3 separate regions of the Homo sapiens genome follow, and regions 1 and 3 are each linked to region 2. The links are contacts of gene promoters, found by promoter capture Hi-C in blood cells and fetal thymus (Javierre and others, 2016). All regions are on one chromosome and are shown on one strand. Each heading gives the region's core, a stretch centred on a gene start or on the middle of the fragment in contact. The rest is flanking DNA. Distances are from core to core; before and after follow the strand shown. Region 1 overlaps GDPD4 (glycerophosphodiester phosphodiesterase domain containing 4). Region 2 holds the start of AQP11 (aquaporin 11). Region 3 overlaps GDPD4 (glycerophosphodiester phosphodiesterase domain containing 4).

Evidence for each region. The method cuts DNA at HindIII sites, captures the fragments that hold promoters and counts their contacts. A CHiCAGO score of 5 or more calls a contact.
Region 1: a fragment that was not itself captured here is called in contact with the fragment with the promoter of AQP11 in region 2 in 1 of 17 cell types (M0 macrophages); the score reaches 5.4 in M0 macrophages.
Region 3: a fragment that was not itself captured here is called in contact with the fragment with the promoter of AQP11 in region 2 in 1 of 17 cell types (M0 macrophages); the score reaches 5.3 in M0 macrophages.

Annotation. Positions count from the first base shown.
Region 1 is chr11:77,228,446-77,232,795 of GRCh38, forward strand. GDPD4 (glycerophosphodiester phosphodiesterase domain containing 4) reads right to left here. Exons shown (of 17, transcript NM_182833.3): 15 at 705-787. Among named protein-coding and RNA genes, the nearest start is that of GDPD4, 71 kb to the right of the region's middle. The HindIII fragment of the contact is 3,548 bases long and covers 487-4,034 here.
Region 2 is chr11:77,586,928-77,591,668 of GRCh38, forward strand. AQP11 (aquaporin 11) reads left to right here and starts at 3,026. Exons shown (of 3, transcript NM_173039.3): 1 at 3,026-3,684. The coding sequence starts at 3,066. RefSeq lists a silencer at 2,373-3,002. The HindIII fragment of the contact is 3,851 bases long and covers 1-3,633 here.
Region 3 is chr11:77,286,918-77,291,233 of GRCh38, forward strand. GDPD4 (glycerophosphodiester phosphodiesterase domain containing 4) reads right to left here. Exons shown (of 17, transcript NM_182833.3): 2 at 301-503. Among named protein-coding and RNA genes, the nearest start is that of GDPD4, 13 kb to the right of the region's middle. The HindIII fragment of the contact is 3,283 bases long and covers 428-3,710 here.

The sequences.
Region 1 (4,350 bases), core at 1,011-3,510, 360 kb before region 2:
GCCGAGATCGTGACACTATACTCCAGCCTGGGTGACAGAGCAAGACTCCGTCTCAAAAAAAAAAAAAAAAAAAAAAAAAAAAATTAGCCAGGCACAGTGGCAGGCACCTGTAATCCCAGCTACTCGGGAGGCTGAGGCAGGAGAATCACTTGAACCCAGGAGGTGGAGGCTGCAGTGAGCCGAGATCATGCCACTGCATGCCACCGCACTCCAGCCTGGGCAATAGACTGAGACCCCATCTCAAAAAAACGAACAAAAAAAATATTATGGCCCAGAAAGAAGCAGTTGTTTTCCCAGGGTCACCTAGCAACTAAGGGACAAAGCCAGAGCTAAAACCCAGTCTTCCTGGTTTATGAACTTGCTCTTTGCACACTGCTATGCCATTTCATGGAAGATGGGAAGGTGGAGGCACTTGTTCTGGACAATATTCAAGCCCTGTCATCTTTCAACTGCTCCACATTGAATCCATAGTAATAGGCTTGACTAAGCTTTAGTGACAGTCCCTATCCTGAAAATATTGTCTTATTTGGGGGAGGTCAAAGGGGTGTGAGGAACTGCAGACTACATGAGAAGAGAGATTCAGATTATAAACGCCATCTTGCCATGTGGGATTACGGGAAGAGCGTAACTCTTATTTTTCTCAATTTCCTATAATAATCCATTTATTTTGGAAAAAATTCATTTAAAATTATATATATACTTACCAGTGAAAACAAAATATGGCAACAATAAAAAGCACAGAAATGATATCTGCAAGGAGCCACATGAACACATAGAACTTTGGTGTCTGAAAAACATAAACCACAGTGAAAGAACTTTACAGTTAGAAGGGATTTTGGATCATACGGTCTAAGTCCCTTGCTCTGCTGCCAGGGCTGGAGGAGGAGAGGAAGAGGGGATAGACAGGCCAAGGAACCTTGATTGATGTGGCATTCTCAAACACAGACAGTCCCTGCAAGTGTCCTAACAGTCACCCTTATACATGCAGGGGGCTCTAGAGGGAATAGAACACTTCACACCTTTCATCTCACCTTTCATCTCCCAAGACAGAGGGCAGAGGGGGTCCCAGAGAAGTCACACAACAAGTCTATTCTGGACCCAAGACCACAGTCCAGGTTCTTGACTTCTACTGCTGTTTTCAAGGCATGGCTTCTCAAACCTGGCTGTGCAGCCAAGTCTCCCGGGGCAGCTTTTAGTAATACAGGTTTCTGGGTCTCACTAGACACCTAAGGAATGAGAATCTCTGCATTTTTAACACATTCCCAGGTGATGCTGAAGCCATGTGTCTGTAAGCCAGCATTTGGGAACCATTGTTCTAAAGTATCACACTTTAATTAAGAATGCTGAAGTACAATTACCCCTTACCTACATGCTCCTCTTCTATGCTCCTTGCCCAAATCATCTATTTCCCAGAGCTCTGTCTTCTGGGTCCTCTCATTGAGTTTGATGCTCCCTTTCCACCTCAATTGTGCCCTCTCTAATTCCACTTGATGCTAATAGGGCTGGCACATTTTATCCTTTCTCAGACCACTCTCCACCCTATCCCAAGGTCTTTCCTTGAGCTGAATAATAAAATTAATAACACTAATGATCATAATTAACAATAAGCAATTAACAGGAGCCAGGCAGGTATTCTAAGCACTTCAGGGGTATTTACAGATTTAAGCCTCATAATAGCCCTACTAGTAGAAAATCTTAACCAACTTCCACTGAACTGAGGCTCTTAATCCCCTCTGGGAAAAATATTGACTGAGGGCTGCTGTAGTTGGCTGATTGCTCCAAGAGGCCTACCAGATAAGCAGAATGTTCACAAAGAATCAGTTATCCTTGTTTCCCAAATGGCTTAAGTCAACTGTACTTGTTATTGTAATAGTGCAATGTAATTAGATGCTGCTTAAATTTGTGAGATCTGAGTGAAAAAAGTATGTCATTTTCAAAGAAACTAAGTCAAATGCTTTGAAAAACTCAATGAGGACAAAATAGATCATTAAAGAATAGACAGCAATTAGATTAGGTGTAGGTGAAACACTACAAGGGTTTGAGGGATTATAAAGATCTAGGTAGATTGCTCATTCAGATTGATTGTCCTAATGACTTTAAGTTCCTGTTCTGCTTAAAACAAACAGTTAGAAATCCTAGCTAGTTCATCTGGATGTTTAAATGAGAGAACATAGAACTCGATCAGCAGAAATATCCTCAAAGAAATGACTGTCAAAAGGTGAATGAATATTTTAAAATAAAATTTGTGAAGTATGTATGTGGCATACTGTTTATAAAAATGACCACAAAATTCCTTCCAAACCTATATGCAGGCCCCTACACAACGTGACTTAGCTGTGCCTCCCTATCAAGAGGTGAAGTCTGTTTCTCTCCCACCCTGAATCTGAATTTGGCCAGGTGATTTTCCTTGGCCAATGGAACATCAGCAAACATAACACTGTGAGAACTTTGAAAAGTCCATGTGCTTTGGGGCTTGCTCTCTCTTGCTGTTGGGAACCCATCTCCACTAGGTGAACACACTCCAGCTAGCTGCCTTGAGGATGAGCGACGACACGAAGAGAAACTTGGTCATTCCAGGTGCGCCTCTAGACAAATGAACAAGGCATCCTAGACTATCCAGCCCAGCTGACTTGGCTCAAACCAGAGACACCACCTAGCCATCAGCCAGAATTGAGACATGATAAATATTTGTTTAAGACACTAAGTTTTAGGTAGTTTTTATTAAGCATTAAAAGCTAACTGATAAAGTGTATATCATTTTTAAATGATTCCTCACTTTAATTTTCTCAATTACGAGACCAATGACCAGACCAGATTATGTTGGACACAAGTGTTTCTACTGCACTATTATTATCCCCAATTTTCAAACAGAAGAAACAAAAAAGCCAAAAACCACAAACACATTAACTAGTATTTCCACATTCACACAGTAAGTAATGGAGCCAAGATCTGAATCTAAATCTCAATCAGTCTAACTCTGGAGTGTAGGCTTCCTGTTAAGACCTCTGGGACACCAGCCTCACCTCCCTGAATAAAATGACACATGGCATAGGCTGGGAACCATGCATTGGGTCCTTTAAAAATGCCTAGACTAGGTGTGGAAGGAAGATTGGTTTTCTTACATATATCCTTTTAAACTTTTTGATTTTTGAATCACATGGATTTATTCATTTAAATATTAAAATGAAAAAAACGCATTCAGAAATAGCATCATTTAAGTAAATGTGTACCTCCCAAAGGGACAACTTTGAGACATTACTGATTCAGGGGATAGGATTATGGAGGGGTGTGCTGCTTTCTAAATTATGCATTTTTGTAATGACTGGATTTTAAAATGTTAGAAAAACACATAGTATATACATGAAGGGGAGTTATATGGGGACAGGTGGGTGGAAAGGCTCCACCTGTGCTGAGTGACCTGCCATCCAAAGCTCCCTTCAGGGTCATCTCCAGGAAGCTGACCAAGCCACCATAGTAAGAAGTCAGCGATTTCTCCTGTCTACCAGAGGGCCTAGATGCAGTTACTGGCCCTGTAAGACTGTGCCTTGACTCTGGATCCCTTTTCCCCTGGTCCTGACCCTGAACAGGTCAGAAGCTCAGGCCAGAGGGTGGAGATCTGGAGGAGGTGACTTGAGGCCCCTTCCCTCTTAGGCTTCTCTGACAAAGGCTTTAACTTTCAAGGCCATTTGGAGTTTGGGTTATTACTTGGGATTGGACTCTTAATTCTGAAGTGAGGCTTTTTGATGACTAAAAGTGAACTTCTAAAAGTTATCTAACAGTGACTGGAAAAGCTACAGGACCTAAGTGAGATTTCATTCAGGGGCAGAGAAAGGCCTACATCACAGACCAGGTTTAAAGAATCAATGCAGCGAAATTAAACTGTTTTCTGTTGTATGCTATTGTGTCCCACTCAGTCAACCTACTCTCTGTACAGATAAGAACAAGTTCTGTAGCAGTAACTGGTTAGCTAGGGCTCCCTCCACAGATAGTGATAGGATTTGGCTGGGATCGTAAACCAGGTCTTCAGGTTCTCAAGCTTCTGGCAGTAAGCAACAGAAGGCCTAGAACATGCAACTGGACACTGGCTACCCTCTTCAAAAGCCATTTGTTAGGGCACACAGTTTCCACTTTGGAGTCAAGTACGCTTGGTTTTCTCCCCACTCTCCATGCCGTTGTCAATTGTTGCCATGCCTCTACAAAGGTGGGGCTACAGTAACAAAACTCTGAAGTCAGACCTCATTCTGAATCCTGCCTCATGAAACCACATGCAAAGATATCTTTGAGCTTCAGTTTCCTCATGAAGATGATAACAGTGGCCAATTCAAAGGGTTAAATGACATAACGCATGTC
Region 2 (4,741 bases), core at 1,776-4,275:
CTCTGCCTCTCTTCTTTCTCCCTCTTCTCTTTACCCCTTAACTCCTATTTATTCTTCAGGTTTCAGCTAGGATGACACTTCCTCCAAGGAGCCTTTCCTTAAGTCTGAGTGGGGGCCCCTCCCTGTGCCCAGGCCTTTCTTCTTTTACCATTGTACTTTTACACTATATTTTAATTTTGTTTTCTCTTCTGTTCCCTCTTCTATGCTATTCAAGAGCAAGGACTGTTTTTACTGCTGTTTTACCAAAGCTAACAGAGGTCTTCGTCCATGATGTCACTCTCAAGAGACTTTAATTGGTGATTTCTTGTTTCTGAAAATAGGAAGGTTGATTTGATGCAAAATATCCAATCAGTAGTAATTAATTATGTTAATTTTGCCCTTGTTCTTTAATTTAAAAAATGTCCAAAGTCCTTTTAATGACAATATGTATTACCACGATACTAAAATTTCTTACCAAAGTCCAAAACACTGGTTTTCTACATGACTCTTCCGGGTAAAAGTGAATTATCAGCAGAGCAGTAAATAAAATACATTCACATTAATCCTCAAGTGACTTCAAGTCTAGGGGAGCACTGAAAGGGTTACATTCATAGGATTGATTTAAAGGCAACTTCTTTAAACAGCAGTGACTTAAAAGTAATTCTAATTGCCGGGCGCGGTGGCTCACGCCTGTAATCCCAGCACTTTGGGAGGCCGAGGCGGGCAGATCACAAGGTCAGGAGATCAAGATCATCCTGGCTAACACAGTGAAACGCCATCTCTGCTAAAAAATACAAAAAAAAAAAAAAAAAAAAAAAAAAAAAAAAAAAAAAAGCCAGGTGTGGTGGCAGGCGCCTGTAGTCCCAGCTACTCGGGAGGCTGAGGCAGGAGAATGGCGTGAACCCGGGAGCAGAAGTTGCAGTGAGCTGAGATCACGCCATTACACTCCAGTCTGGGAGACAGAGCGAGACTCTGTCTTAAAAAAATAATAATAATAAATAATTCTAATTTAAATTCTTTCTGGCCAGGCAATCAACACAGGAAAGAGAAAAGGTCTTGATTTTCTACTAGTTTGTGTCTTGTGAAAGAATTTTTTTTTTTTTTAGACGAAGTCTCACTCTGTTGCTCAAACTGGAGTGCAGTGGCACTGTCTTGGCTCACTGCAACCTCCACCTCCCGGGTTCAAGGGATTCTCTTGCCTCAGCCTCCCGAGTAGCTGGGACTACATGTGCGCACCACCATGCCCAGCTAATTTTTGTATTTCTAGTAGAGACGGGGTTTCACTATGTTGGCCAGGCTGGTCTTGAACTCCTGACCTCGTTATCCGCCTGCCTCGGACTCCCAAAGTGCTGCACCTACAATGGGCCACCCCAGGGGACAAGCTGTTGGGACTGGAATGCGGTGGCAAGAGCCGTGCACTCTGGCTGCTGAAACCTGCTGTTTCCACTGTAAGCTACCACTTAGTGAATATTTTCTACGTATTGGGAACTGTACTAAGTGGCTTTCATGTTTTGTTTTTTGTTTGTTTGACTGGTTTGTTGTTGTTGTTGTTGTTGTTGTTGTTGTTTTTGAGACGGAGTTTCGCTCTTGTTGCCCAGGCTGGAGTACAATGGCGCGATCTAGGCTCACCACAACCTCTGCCTCCCGGGTTCAAGCGATTCTCCTGCATCATCCTCCCGAGTAGCTGGGATGACAGGCATGCGCCACCATGCCCGGCTAATTTTGTATTTTTAGTAGAGACGGGGGTTTCTCATGTTGGTCAGGCTAGTCTCGAACTCCCGACCTCCGGTGATCCGCCCGCCTCGGCCTCCCAAAGTGCTGGGATTATAGGCGTGAGCCACCGCGCCCAGCCGCGCCCGGTTTTTGTTGTTGTTTTTGTTTCTAAAAACAGCGTCTCGCTCTGTGGCCCAGGCAGGGGTGCAGTGGCGCGATCTCAGCTCACTGCAGCCTGGAACTCCTGGGGTCAAGCGGTCTTCCCACCTAAGCCTCTCCGTGCTGGGACTCCGGACGCGCTCCACCTCACGCAGCCGTATTCCTGCTTTCAAAGCAGATGGAAGAGGTGCGCCAGGACCCCCAGTTCTTGGAAACAGACCTCTCCAGTTACCTGTTGTTTCCTCTTCACGAAGAGTGCATGTAACAGTAAGACACAACTGTTTCATATTATACGTAAAGAGTTCATGCCAAAGGTTATAGACAGTCACATGCTAAAACTAGGCTACACTTTGAAGAATCACCGCTCAAGTTCTGGAAAAAAGAGGTGACTGTTGAACAACACTGTGAGGGTAATCGATGCCACTGAAATATACACTTAAATTGATTAAAGTGGCGAATTTTATCTGGCATATATTACCACCATTTTTAGAAATGTTTTTTGGCAGGTGAAGAAAAGCAAGGCTCCAGGAGGCCCTGCGCACCGGTCTACGCCCACTAACTCACCCGCCCCCTGCGCCGCGTCTCCCCTCTCAATTTCAGTCGCCCATTGATAAAAACGAGGTGGCTATGTGAGATGGCCTTCAGCGGTCTTTCCAGCTCCACGGTTTTACAGTGTGGAGCGGGGAAAGAAAAACTCTAAGGTCCTCGCTGCAAAGCAACCATCAGAGCTCCGCCGCGCCGTGCCGCTCCTCTCCGCCCCGTGGTCCGGGTGTCACCGCCCGCAGGGGCGCAAGGGCCGCAGCACGCGTGCGCAGTGGGCACCAAGAGCGCTGCGTCGACCGCGCCGCGCCGGCCCTCCGCCGCCGCGCCCGCCTACAAGGCCCTGAGGGAGACTGCGGAGGGTGAGTGCGCGGTGGGCTCGGCTGACCGTTGGCCCTGCGGCCGGCGCCCTAGGCTACCTCCCTTCGCCTCCCCGCGCCTCCCCGCGCCTCCCCGCCTCCCCGCCTCCCCGCCTCCTCGGCTCTGGTTCCAACACCCCAGCGCCAAGCCGGGGAGGCGGGGAGGACTTCTTAAGTGTGCCGCTCGGGAGCCTCCCGCTCGTCCCGCCCCGAGGGGCGTGAGGAGGGGAGGGGCTGCGGACTTCGGACTCGGGCCTGGAGACCGCCTCCTACCCAGAGCCGGAGCCCGCAACCCGCTCAGGCGGCGACGGAGCCATGTCGCCGCTGCTGGGGCTCCGGTCCGAGCTGCAGGACACCTGCACCTCGCTGGGACTGATGCTGTCGGTGGTGCTGCTCATGGGGCTGGCCCGCGTAGTCGCCCGGCAGCAGCTGCACAGGCCGGTGGCCCACGCCTTCGTCCTGGAGTTTCTAGCCACCTTCCAGCTCTGCTGCTGCACCCACGAGCTGCAACTGCTGAGCGAACAGCACCCCGCGCACCCCACCTGGACGCTGACGCTCGTCTACTTCTTCTCGCTTGTGCATGGCCTGACTCTGGTGGGCACGTCCAGCAACCCGTGCGGCGTGATGATGCAGATGATGCTGGGGGGCATGTCCCCCGAGACGGGTGCGGTGAGGCTATTGGCTCAGCTGGTTAGTGCCCTGTGCAGCAGGTACTGCACAAGCGCCTTGTGGAGCTTGGGTCTGACCCAGTATCACGTCAGCGAGAGGAGCTTCGCTTGCAAGAATCCCATCCGAGTCGACTTGCTCAAAGCGGTCATCACAGAGGCCGTCTGCTCCTTTCTCTTCCACAGCGCTCTGCTGCACTTCCAGGAAGTCCGAACCAAGCTTCGTATCCACCTGCTGGCTGCACTCATCACCTTTTTGGTCTATGCAGGTTTGTCATTCTCACCAAATACTTGGCACTTCCAGAGCCTCTATGACATGAGGCTGTAAGTTCTTTACTAAAATACATTTGAAACCGTCTATCCCGCTATGATGTAAATGCTGGTATCCCCGTTATTCTAACCATTTTGCAGCCCGTTCTTAACCAGTAGGGCCGACACGTAGAGCCTTCATGCAGTGCTGCTTTGAACACCCAGAGAAAGGAGCCACCTCTGTGCTGAAACTGAGATACTGTGAGATATTGCCAAGGGTTCAGATATCCTACAAAGGGATTGTTTTAATGGTAGAAAGGAAAGATAACTTATTAACTGCCTCTTTCTTCATGCCAAGGTGGTATAGATCGTTTCGGATACTCTTACTGAAAAATGATCCTGGCTTTACAAAGTTCCTTTCGATTTAAAGCACAAGGCACATGATTGGTTAGTATAAGAGCGGAGGGTAGAAATTTTGTAGTTCCATTTTAGTCCTATAAATGATTTAAAGTCATTTCTTATTTCCTTAATAATTCATTTTGAGTTATGAAATTTCTTATTTCCTTAATAATTCATTTTGAGTTATACATGAACTTTTAAGTGACCTATTAAGAAAAATGTTTAAATGATAACTTGCTTCAAATTAAAGATGCTTTTTAAAATATAACTCTTGAGAAATCTGTTGATTTCTTTTAAACCATTTGTTTACTTTGACAGATCTCAGATGCAGTGGGCAATCTAGTCCTAAGTGGGAGGAGGAAATCCAAAACACAAGTATTTAATGATGAAATGTGTCATTTTAAATGATTACAACAGAATATCTTTATTGGGACTACATCTAAATTATAAAAGACTGTGGAGGCAGAAATAACAACAAAGGAAATTTGTGGTAATAATCTTCTGCCCATTAAAAGTGAAACAATGACTAGAAGCAAACTTCAAGATAAGGACTCCTAAACACGTACTTGACCTTCTAGGGTAAAAATGAAAGCCTTCAGCCGGGCGCGGTGGCTCACGCCTGTAATCCCAGCACTTTGGGAGACCGAGGTGGGTGGATCACCTGAGGTCAGGAGTTTG
Region 3 (4,316 bases), core at 819-3,318, 300 kb before region 2:
CATCACTTTTTCTTCAAGATTCACTGAATGAATAAATGCAAAAGTGAATTAATGAATAAACATAAAAGAGGTAGTAAGGAAAAGTAAAGAATAAAAGTGAAAAATGAAGTGAAGGAAAGAAAATGAAGAAAGCAAGTACATGTTTCAGTAAGTTTAACATTGGTGCAATACTTTTATGGAAGAAATGGAGCCCTAGCATCCCCAGTCCTGGAGACCATAAAGAGCCCTCATGGGGCCCAGCAGTCAGCCTATGCTCCCCGCATCTGAGAAAATGTGGTCCAGCTCCTTATCAGTCTGTACCCAAGTGCAGCAACAAAATCCAACTTTAGTTTTTTCCCATTGTCTGAATTTCCAGAGGCAACTATAGCAGCCAGTAAGGAAGGTGACAAAGCATTTGTGGTTGAAGATGCGTGGAATCCATGGATTAAGCTTTTTTGGTTTTTCTGTCTTATTCCTCTTGTGCTCAATCCTGTTGACCTTCTTAAACATGATTCACCCTTTAGCTGGAAAGACAAATAAAATAATCAGGATCTAGTGTCGCTCCCCTTAATGTACCTTATCCCACCATTCTACAGAAAATTTTATCAAAGACAGATGGATTTTTAAAAAACTGTTTATAATCAAAGGTAATATACTGGATTTGGGGCAGAAGAATAGAGTTTCTTCCTACCTTTCCCTCCCACTAACTTGTTGAGTGTTTACTGTGATCACTGCATCACTCTAGGTTTAGTTTTCTCACCTCTAAAGTGGGACAATATTCCCTGTCCTCACCAACTAATAAATGCTGAAAGAATCAAATTAGATAATATATGCAAACGTGCTTCTCAAATTGCAATATGCTGTTGAAATAACTTGAGACGTTAAAGGCACGGGTGAGGTACATGAAAATACCATCGTTGACTAATAAGTGACTCAGACACACAGCTGGCTGCTCCTTCCCTTTCTCTCCTCTCCCATATGGAATCAGTTAGGGTTAGCTTCAATTATGAATGATGGAATCTTCAAAACAACAATGGCTGAAATGTGACAAGTTTATTTTTCCTTTGCCAACAAAAAATATTTCAGAGATAGAACAAAATATGTAGCATGTGGCTTCACAATGGCACTAAGAACACAGGCACCTACCACAACCTGCACCTGTGTACATCATCAAGGAGCCTGAGGACAGGCCAACATCACCTGGCACTACTACCACCACCAATGCCTACCCACACATGCCAGCTGGGGACCTATAGACTGACCCACCCATCCTATTGCTGTCACTGCTAGCACCAGTGCATGTTACCTGGGAGACCAAAGATTGGCCCCCTAACACTACTGCCATCGCTGATACCACACATGCTGCCCAGGGCTCCAGGTCCCACCCACCTGCCCTGCACACTGCTAACACTGCCAGTACCCAAGCAAGCCACCTAGAGACCTAAAAATTGGCCCACCTCGACCTGCTAACACCAGTGCCTGTGTACACTGGCCAGGGGTCCAAGGACAGGAACAATCGGCCTGCCACCACCACCACTGGGGCCTGAGGATTGGCCTGCCTGATTTCCCCATTCCCAGCAAAGTCTCACCACAGCCTGTGCTAACAACCAGAGCCTAAACCACTGACAAAATCATAGACACCACTGATATTGATTACAGCCAAAGAAATCCCAGGGAGACTATACTACTGCATGAACCCAGAATAAAAACTAAAGTGCCCCACCCAACCAACTCTACAGATACATCTACAAGAAAAAAAAATCTTCCCCTATGAAAGCCAACCCAAAAAATTAGAAAAGGCAACTGTTACAGCAGATGTGCAGATATCAACATAAGGACACAAAAAACATGAAAAAGCAAGGAAACATGACAACTTCGAAGTAATGTGATAATTATCCAGCAAGAGATTCCAATGTAAAAGAAATGTGTGAAATGCCTACAAATAATTTAAAATAACAATATTAAATATACTCAATGAGATACAAGAGAACACAGATAAATAATACAAAGAAATCAGAAAAACAATTCAAAATCCGAATGAGATAATTCAATAAGGAGATATTAGTTCAGAACCTGAAGACAAGTCATTTGAAATAACCCAGTAAGGTGAAAGAAACAGAAGGAGGGGAGGGGAGGGGAGGGAAGCGGGAGAGAGAAAGAAAGAGAAGGAAAAGTGGAAGGAAGGAAGCCTGGCTGGGCACTGTGGCTCACACCCAGCACTTTGGGAGGCCAAGGTGGATGGATCATTTGAGGTCAGGAGTTCGAGACCAGCTTGGCCAACATGATGAAAACTCGTCTCTAATAAAAAATACAAAAATTAGCTGGGCTTGGTAGTGCACATCTGTAATCCCAAGTACTTGGGAGGCTGAGGCAGGAGAATCACTTGAACCTGGAAGGCGGAGGTTGCAGTGAGCCAAGATCGCACCACTGCACTCCAGCCTAGGTGACAGAGCAATACTCCATCTCAAAAAAGAGGGGAGGGGAGGGGAAAAGGAGGGAAGACGGAAAGAGACAGAGAGAGAAAGAGAGAGAGAAGGCAGGCCGGCTGGCCATAGTGGCTTATGCCTGTAATCCCAGCACTCTGGGAGGCCGAGGCAGGGGGTGGGGGGAATCATTTAAGGTCAGGAGTTCGAGACCAGCCTGGCCAACATGATGAAACCCCGTCTCTACTAAAAATATAAAAAATTAGCCATGCATGGTAGTGCACATCTATAATCACAGTTACTTGCGAGGCTGAGGCAGAAGAATTGTTTGAACCTGGAAGGCGGAGGTTGCAGTGAGCTGAGATTGCACCACTGCACTCCAGCCTGGGTGACAGAGCAAGACTCCATCTCAAAAAAGAAGGAAGGCAGGCAGGCAGGGAAGGAAGGAGGGAGCGAGGGAGGGGAGGGAAAGAGAGAGAGAGAAGGAGGGAGGGAAGGAAGGGAGGGAGGGAGGGGAAGGAAAGGAGGGAGGGAGAAGGGAGGGAGGAGGGAGGGAAAAGAATAAAGAAACCCTACATGACATTTTTGAAAACCATAAAGTGACCAAGTACTCGAATTTTGGATATTCCAGAAGAAGAGGTGGGGAAAAGCATCGAAAACCAATTTAATAAAATAATCACTGAAAACTTCCCAAGTCTTACAAGGGGTTCAGACATCCAGATAGTGGAAGCTCAAAGATCCCCAAATAGATTTAACCGAAAAAGGTCTTCTCCAAGGCACTTTATAGTCAAACTGCCAAAAGCCAAAGACAGAGAATTCCAAAAACAGCAAGAGAAAAGCATCAAGTCACACATAAGAGAAACCAGTCAGACTAATAGTGGATTTCTCAGTAGAAATCTTACACGATAGGAGAGGATGGCCTGAAAGAAAACAAAGACCAAATGGACCTAACAGATATATACAGAACATTTTATCCAACAATTACAGAATACACATTCTTCCCATCGGCACATAAAACATTCTCCAGGATAGACTACATGTTAGGTCACAAAACAAGTCTAAACAAATTTGTAAAAATCTAAATCACATTAAGTATCTTTTCTGACCACAATGGAAAAAAAGTAGAAATCAATAACAAGAGAAATTTTTGAAACTGTAAAAATACATGGAAATTATTTTAACAACTTGGTCCTGATTGACCATTGGTCAATGAAGAAATTAAGAAGAAAAAAAAATTATTGAAACAAATGAAATTAAAAAACACATACTAAAACCTATGTGATACAGCAAGAGGAATGTTGAGAGGGAAGCTTATACCAATAAACATTTACATCAAAAGTAGAAAGATTTCAAATAAATAATTATGCACCTCAAGGAACTGGAAAACCAAGAACAAACCAAAGCCCTTCTATTTCTCAACAGAAGACATACAAATAGCCAACAGGTATATGAAAAAATGTTCAATATCACTAATAATTAGGGAAATGCAAATCAACACCACAGTGAGACATTATCTTACCCCTGTTAGAAGGGCTATTATCAAAAAGACAAAAAATAAAGAAGCTGGCAAAGATAGAGGGCACTCTTACACACTGTTGGTGGGAACATAAATTAGTACAGCCCATAAAAAACAATATGGAGATTTCTCAAAAAACTAAAATATTGTAGTAACCATATGATCCAGCAATTCCACCACTTGGTAGTTATCCAAAGAAAGGAAATCAGTATATCAAAAGGATACCTGCATCCCTATGTTTATTGCAGGACTACGCACAATTGCAAAGATAGAGAACCACCCTAAGTGTCCATTAATGGACAAATGGATAAAGAAAATGAGCTTATATATGCAATGCAATACTCTTCGGCCATAAAAAGAAAATGAAATTCTGTCATTTGCAGCAGTATGGATGGTAC